Regions from separate parts of the Homo sapiens genome. Here region 1 is linked to region 2. The links are contacts of gene promoters, found by promoter capture Hi-C in human tissues and cell types (Jung and others, 2019). All regions are on one chromosome and are shown on one strand. Each heading gives the region's core, a stretch centred on a gene start or on the middle of the fragment in contact. The rest is flanking DNA. Distances are from core to core; before and after follow the strand shown. Region 1 has its middle 67 kb from the start of SMIM21. Region 2 holds the start of SMIM21 (small integral membrane protein 21).

The links. The method cuts DNA at HindIII sites, captures the fragments that hold promoters and counts their contacts. A contact is called where the count stands out against the background at its distance.
Region 1: a fragment that was not itself captured here is called in contact with the fragment with the promoter of SMIM21 in region 2 in 4 of the 25 tissues and cell types used here (H1 embryonic stem cells, adrenal gland, bladder and 1 more).

What each region holds. Positions count from the first base shown.
Region 1 is chr18:75,358,506-75,362,826 of GRCh38, reverse strand. No RefSeq gene overlaps it. Among named protein-coding and RNA genes, the nearest start is that of SMIM21, 67 kb to the left of the region's middle. RefSeq lists enhancers at 1,631-2,171, 2,172-2,713. The HindIII fragment of the contact is 7,469 bases long and covers 1-4,321 here.
Region 2 is chr18:75,425,741-75,429,836 of GRCh38, reverse strand. It overlaps SMIM21 (small integral membrane protein 21), which reads left to right and starts at 2,134. Exons shown (of 3, transcript NM_001037331.3): 1 at 2,134-2,402. The coding sequence starts at 2,274. LOC105372200 (a long non-coding RNA gene) reads right to left here. Exons shown (of 4, transcript XR_935636.3): 4 at 3,176-4,096. RefSeq lists an enhancer at 1-41. The HindIII fragment of the contact is 8,486 bases long and covers 1-4,096 here.

The DNA.
Region 1 (4,321 bases), core at 906-3,405, 67 kb after region 2:
GTTACCTGGGGTCCAGCTGTTGGAATTTCTTCTCTCCTTTTTCCCCAAGCATTCTACCTCTCTTGGGTATTGTGTTTATAGCATATGTTTCTATGTGGACAGTCATACTGAGCACTTACGGCTGTAAATAAACCTGGGTATATTTACATGCTGGGGTTTGCAGGGCCTCACGTGGCCCGTGGTGCATCGGTCATGGAGGCTCCCAGCTGCCGTGCTGCTCGGCACCCAGCAGCTCCTCCAGCAGCCCAAGCCACGGTGTTCTCACAGGTGGCAAAGCGGCTCGTGAATTCCCAGGACTATTCCTCACGGTTCACTCCGGAGCAGCAGCAAGTGGACTGTCACGCTGCTCTTTGTCTTCCCTCTCTGGTGTTGCTTTTCCGGGCTTTCCCCCATCTTGAATTTTCCCCTGTTCCTATTTTGTTGTGTCTGTGGGATGTGGGTGTTGGAAGTGGGTTTTTTCAGAAGGACTGTTTTTTCTCCTTTCTAGGAATGTGTGGCTCCTTACAGGAGCTGGTGTTCTGTGATTCCGAGATATTCTTGTTTTACCCATTTTGAACCACTCTATAGAGTTCCTGGTGGCTGGAACTTACTTCATCCTGGCTGATGGATTCTGTTTTCTGGGATGGGAGCTGCACACGCAGACACACAGAGCAGAGGGAGGGCTTGGGCGGTTTCCTCTTTGGTGCAAGTGTGCATTTCCTCTGTATTCATGGGTTCCACCAACCCGTGTGCAGGGTGCAGGGGAAGTGAGCGTTTGCTGACTTCGTGGAGGGGTCACTACCTGAGTGAGGCTTTCTGACCCCCCACTTCCCTGCAACACACACACACACTCACATGCAGACACACTCAGACACTCATCACCTCACACACACACCTTTACATACATGCACACTCACACTCACTTACCAGACACACTCAGACACTCATCACCTCACACACACCCTCACATACATGCACACTCACACTCACTTACCAGACACACTTAGCCACTCATACACACACCACCTTGCCCATACACAAACACATATAACCATACACTCACACTCATGCAAACACAGCCACTCACACGCACTCATTACTTCACATATGCAAATTCACACACTCACATTCACACTCAAGCCACACTCACCCACACTCAGCCATTCACACACACTCACACTCCCTCACACTCAGCCATTCACACACTCACACTCAGCCACTCATGAACCCTCACACTCGCTCGTGAGAGTCTGAGTGACTCTCTCACACACACTCACACATATGCACACACACTCATGCAGACATAGACACACACACATCACCACACACACAAACACACACGTCCTCACACACACACAAAATCATACAAACTCACACACACTTAACCACTCACACACACTCATCACCTCACACACAACCACTCACGCACCCTCACACTCACTCGGAGAGTCCCTTATGAGTGAGTGACTCACGTGCACGCACACCCACGCTTACTGGTGGTCACTGCTCTCCCACACTCAGGACACCATCAGGAAGAGGGTTGTCACCAGTGCTTTGGTCCCAGTCTCTCTGTGTTCATCTGTTTATTCTGCTTATGCCTGGAGGACATGAAGACAGAGCGTGGCCGTGGAATGCCCCCCCGACATGGCCTCCCATGAAGACACCTCAGCCCCACGTTCCCTCTGCACCACCTGGACGGGGACCCACTGCGGCAAGACCACACAGGCAGTCCCCTCACGGCCAGCTGGTCCTGCGGCCATGGACACGTGTTTGTCTCCATGCCCAGTATCTCCTGGAAGACAGCATTCCAGACACCCGAGAACCTGGCCAGGACACCCTCTAGTCTCAGACAAACGCAAGAAATCACTCAGCTAATGCTACCCCCACCTTGGAGAACAGAAGGAGTCCTGCCGGGAGATGGGGCCCTCCAATGTAGACTAATTGTCCTCATCACCCAAGTTCTGGGCTGGTGCTGCTAGACTCCCTCTCTGTCCCCCACCTCTCCCACCTCTCAGCTCCTCCACCTGCTCACCTCCTCCACCCCAGCCACCGCCTGAAGCCAGCAGAAAGGTCTGAGCAGCTTCTCCCTCCAATCCTCCAGAAGGAGCCCACCCTGCCAACACCATGATCTGGGACATCTGACCCCCAGAGCTGTCAGACAATGAATTCCTGTGCTACGACGCCAGGTGTGTGGCGCTTTGTGAACAGAGCCCTCACCTGTAGAACTCAGCGTAGCACAGGGAGGTGGTCCTGGACCATGCTGGTGGGCCTGATGCAATTGCATGTGTCATCACAAGAAGGAGGCAGAAGGGGCTTTGCCCGCAGGAGACAGAGCCAAGCAATGGAAGCAGAGAGAAGCCGACTCACAGAGAGGCTGTGCTGCTGGCTTGGACAACGGGGGCAGTGACCGTGACCCACAGAACACAAGGAATGCAGCTCTTGGTGTTGGAAAGGAAAGGAATCGAATTCCTTCCTGGACCACCCAGAGGGAATCCGGTCCTGTCAGCCCTCGATTTCGACTCACTGATGCTGAGTTCAGACTAGTGGCTTCTAGAAATAGGAGAGAATACATTTCAATTGTTTTCAACCTTCAAGTTTGTGATCATTTGTTACAACAGCCACAAGAAACTAATGCGGCCACCATAGACTGGGTGTTTTTCCACGTATTTGGAACCAAACTAAGCATTTCATAGATGTTATTACATGTAGCCCTTGGGAGTAAATTATATTGTCCTCATTTTACAGAAGAGTAAACTGAGGACAGGTGAAAAAATATTCCCCGCCCAAGGTCATGCCAGCAAGTGTGGAGCTTGGATTTGGACTCAGAGCTATCTAAGGAGGACCTCCAAGCTCTCAGCCTTCCTCACTGTGACAAATCCCCTCTGTGTAGCTCCCAATGCACTCTTCACATCCTCCTCTGCTTCCTCTCCACCTGCCTCCAGATGCTGCCTCCAGCTCGTGTCACCTGCTGTTCCCCAGCTCAAAAGCTCCCAGAAGCTCCTCAGTTGCCACAGACCCCTCAGCCTGGCTTCCATGGCACCTAACAGCCTGAGCCACCCTAACCTTCCAACCTTGTCTCCCACAGTTTCCTTGGGGAGGTCTCTGTTTCCAGCGTGTTGTCTCACTTCCACTCCCCTCCCAGTCTTCAAGCCTTCAGAGGTGCACTCCCTTACTAGGACATCTTCTTACTTCCCTTCCACTTCTTAAGACAAATCTGATTCTAAGTTTTTCCAATTATTTGAGTGCGTACAAATATCTCCTTCCTCTGAATCCCCATTCTACTCAACACTTGGTTTAGTATACAATGATTCTTTATTGATTTTGTATGTGTTAGTTTTCTCTTCCCTAGCTGTACTGTAAATTTCTTCAGGATGCTAAAGAACACTAAAAAAGTCCCTATCCTCATAAAGCTTATAGTTCAGCTGCAGAGACAAAACTTCTTAACCTCAGAACAATCAACATCAAAGGATTTGATTTAATGAGGAAGCAGCAAGCTTCCACATGCCATATTGAGAACACAGGACAGGATGTCAAAAAAATTTGGTTCCAGCCCTGGTTTTGTGCCCTCAGGGAAGCCCCTCCAGCTCGCCAGCTCTCTTCCTCTTTATCTATAAAATCAGACACTTGAGCTACATACCCCCTAATGTCTCTCCACTCTAGCGTCCTATGAGCCAGAGCCGGCATTGGAATGTGCTCCTGATCCCAAGACACCTTTCCCCCTCGCCCAAGAATTCCGCCAGCGACTGAGTCACATTTCCTATGAGGGCCATGCTGTAGCTATTCATCATCCTAAAAGCCTGGGTCCTGTGTGATTCACATCCAGCGAAGGCCACCTTGCCACTGAAGTCTTCATTGGCATTGAAACCTTGAAAGCTGCCCCTGACTTCTGCTACCTTGGCAGGACAGAGTCAAACAGTGCCCTCTTATCCAAGGAGCTGGAAAATGGGAAACAAAGCCAGTGGACATGAGGCCAGACTCAGAGTCTGGCACAGGCATAAGAGGAAGTTCAAAGCCAAGAGAAAAGCCCATGACACTGTGGCTCTCCCACCAACCATCCACTCATGAACTCTAGATGTCACAGTTCGCTTCTGGAAAACTGTATGTGCAGAAGCTTAATACCAAATGAAGGTCATGAATCATGCGTTCCTGGAATGGTCCTTCAACTCGGCATCATCATGACAACAGAGACATGCTGGTAGAGATGGGCTGCAGCCCTTGGAGATGGGGGTGGCTCACTTGAAAAAGAAACGTTGTATTGCTTCTAAGGAAAAGGCACCCATCAGTGGTGCCATGCACCACAAACTGTGCTCAAATACCTCCCCCAAAGGCCATTGAATACCCA
Region 2 (4,096 bases), core at 885-3,384:
ATTGGCACATGCTTCAGGCTGTAGCCCAAGGCTGGTTTAATCTACTACAGGGTTTAAGTTTTCAAAAAGAATTTTCAGCAGATGCACTAGATATGGTCAAATATTTCAGTGTTGTTCCTAATTATTTGAAGTTAACCACCTAACATCCACAGACTATAGATTACCCTCACCCAGGTCTTCAGCCCCAGTTGATTCAGAGGGCTGTTTAGAATTAACACCCAGTTTTCCTTCCTTAATCCACAGACAACCACACTTAAAGGACAGCTAAGAAGCCGCAATCCCTTCCCAGCAAATAGTGCTTATTATCTTACAGAGCAGGTTCACATCTTGTCACTTCACTTTGACCTCCTGGTTATCCTGCCTATTTTGTAGGAAAGGAAACTGAGGCCTACAAAGGTTGGGTCAATTGTCCTAGGTCATGTGGAGGGCAATCGGTTCAGCCAGGATTTAAACCGCCTTTGCTCTGTTTCTGGTCCTCATAGGTTCTCTACCAGAACTACAGAAGGACAGGAAGAGCTAGAAAAACCATTCCAGAGCTCAACTATAACTGGGCATAAACTCTGAGCTCATTAGAAAACTAGAAAACTATATCCTTTTGCTCTTGTTCACAACTTTTAAGTTGAACTTATCCATAAAGAGGAATTACCATGTTTACAGATTGTAGTGGCCTGATTTGCATATGCTTATCATGAAAATAAACATGATTATGGTTGTTTTTTCCCCTAAGTCTAGTTGGCAGAGAGCAACTTCGTCCCTCCTTGGCACCTGTCTCAACTGTCATAGACCAAGCTGTCCCTCCTAGATGAGGTCTCTTTCCACCCCCTACACCCCACTGTCTTTTAGCAGCTGGAAGTTTAAGGCCTGTGGGAAATTGAAGATTAATTTTTAGTCAGTGTTTTTTTTTTCTCTTTTCTTTAAATCACCAACTCTGAGAATTCTAGATGTTACTCTGCATATGTGTGCTCCACAACTATCAACTTTCACAATTTGGGATCTGCTACAAAACGGGCTTCCGAGCTCCCTTCCTGTCCCTCCACACAGGTCTCAAGCCTCCTCTGTCTCTGCTCCCTCTGCACGTTTCTGCCTTTCCCTTGTCCATGGCCTTGGTGGGACCCACCATTTTTTGCTCTTCTTTCTAGAGAATGAGTCTTGTCTCCAACTAGATGGGAAAAACCACTCAGGACAAGACCATCAGAACAGCACTGGGCTACTGATTTGTATGCTGTGCATATGGTCACTGTTCACATAATAACAGGTATTTTCTTAGTCATACTGTGCGTCAAGCACAGTGCATACTGTCCTGGGCATTTTTACTCAACACCAACACTGTGGAGCACCCATCATGAGCTTCTGTAGGCTGGGACTCACAACTATGTGCATCTCTCTTCATCAGGCACCTTGTCAAAAGCCATCCACACTATGGGGATAACGCTGCAAGTATTTGGTGAACGTGTGTGTGTTAAGTACCACTTAATTTTCCGCTCATTGGGCACCATTTACAAACAGTGGAAGATCTGTGAAAATTCCCATGAGGCAGCACAGCAGCATCCAGAGGCCACCACACACGTCTCATGGCTACTCTCCACCCTGCGATGATGGTCTGCACAGCGCTTCTTCCTGGGGTAGCTCCCAAGTAACCTCCATTCAGCTTTCCTCCTGCTGTTCCATGGTGCTTGTCTTCCAGCAGAATCTCTCTCACTTTAACAATTAAATGGACAACCCAGGAAACCTACACTTGGAATTCAGCGAAAGAAATGTTAGTCTCCTGTGGAGTGTCTCATTAGGTTAAAAGAAAGTTACTGAAAAGTCTGATGGGAAAATGAATTTCTACATTTTGCTTAGGGCCCAAAAAGAATCCCAGATTTTATTTCCATTGAAGTGCATATAGTAGTATTTATTTTGATTCAGGGAGATGCGGTTCATTTTTAATATTCACAAAAGCTTCTTGACATCAGATCCAAAGCTTGTGCTGTGGAGATATGGTTGAACATTCTCACACAGCATCACTGAGCCAGAGAGCAACCTGAGAAACCTCAGAACTCCATGTGCGGGAAGATTCCATCCGACTTCATAAAATAATACCTGGACCTGAGAACTCTACATGTGGGAAGATTCCATCCAGCTTCATAAAATAATACCCAGATCTTCAAGGTTGGCAAAGAAGAGAAAAGCTCCTTGGGAACTTAGTTACCAGGTCTTATAGCACCAGCTCTGTGTCCTCAGAGTCGCTGTCATCAAGGAGACCTCTCACTGGTCACCGCCGCAGCCCCCACATGGACCAGTATGTGTCCACAGCTCCTCCCCGATTCCCTATAGCACAGCTGGGAACATTTAAACAAGACTCTGCAGGAATGGGACGGATATTCAAGGGGAATTTGCTGCAGAAGAAAGCACTTACCACAGTGAGTTTATGGGTCTTTAACTTTGGGTTATGAGAGAGACGTATCACTGCACAGGTATGGTCCTACAAAGCACTCTTTTGCCCCAATCTCCTGTGAGTGCTCTGTCTCTCAAATCCAGATTCTACGAAGTTTAAGATGAGACGTCAATCCAGAGCTCTTTCTTTCTCAGTTCTGGCCAAGACAACCTCCCAATTCCAATTCCCAATCTGAGGAAGAGCTGCCCCTTTCAGAAAAGGTACTGGGCCCTCCCCTTGACATTACATCAGTATACAGGCCAATGAGTCAATGATCTCTCCCCTACAGAGAGAGCCTCTTAACACAGATGCAAGGATACCTCCAAATGCTTTAAGCCTAGGTGCACCTGCAACACCTACAAACTCAACCTACCCAGACAAATTTGATACTGCACTCCTAGAAGAAAGTTTCTTTTCCTTCATTACAGGACAGAAGCAAAAGTTGCAACAAATTTAACCATTCATGAACCAGTAGCCAATGTGCAGGCAACAGATGGCATTTATAGACACCCCATTTGCAGAGGTGATGGGGTGATCAATAGCTTCTGAAAAGGAAGTTTATGACCCAGTCATATATCGGAAAGGTTAAAGTCCTAAGACAAAATTTCTGGAATGTCTTCTCCTGTAGCACAGGGTTCCTCTTAGTGTTTCTGACTGTGAAGAGGAGATGGATGGGAGCAGGCAGGTAGCATCTCCTTCCTCTGTCTTGATCCCCACTGCTGCTTCTTTATTTCCTTTTCCTTTTTCCATTTTTTTTTTTTTTTTTTTTTTTTTTTTTTTTTTTTTTTTACATTTTAAAAGTAATGGTCTAGGGCCGGGTGCAGTGGCTCATGCCTGTAATCTCAGCACTTTGGGAGGCCGAGGCGAGGAGATCACAAGGTCAGGAGATTGATACTATCCTGGCTAACACAGTGAAACCCCATCTCTACTAGAAATACAAAAAATTAGCCAGTCGTGGTGGCGGGCACTTGTAGTCCCAGCTACTTGGGAGGCTGAGGCAGGAGAATGGTGTGAACCCGGGAGGCAGAGCTTGCAGTGAGCCGAGATTGTGCCACTGCACTCCAGGCTGGGTGACAGAGCGAGACTCTGTCCCTCAAAAAACAAACAAACAAACAAACAAACAAACAAATAAATAAATAAAAGTAATGGTCTTAAAGTTCTTCAGTCTTAAACAAATTATAGAAGGCTTTAAAAGCTGGTTTTGTGCATTTCATATGTGATAGTTGTAAGTCGATTTGAAGTCCTTCTAATACTTTATAAATTTCATCAATCAACATCCAGGTAGGTAGAATCTTAGGTACATGATGATGGTTATGAATTAATACTAGGCCGGTGTGTGCTGGGTTTGTCTCCAGGCCTTGCGTGAGGGCTGTGATGGGGTGCATGACTCAGGAGGCACTCGGTGGGCAATCAAAAGAGGCAATGGTAACACAGCACCTCAAACATTTCAGGGCAGCTGGTCTGCACCAGGTACACAGTAGGCATGAGGAGTGCAAAGATGGGAGAGGCAGGGGCCCCCACCTCAGGGAGCACACAGATACAGAGACTGTCCCTGTCCCCTCCATCTTCAACTCTTGATTTCTTCCATCTTTCTTAGGTTGGAGGTTAACTTGCTGCTGAAGAGATTTCAGCAGGATGGGAACTTACATATAATCTGAATAATCAAATGTAAAAGAGTTC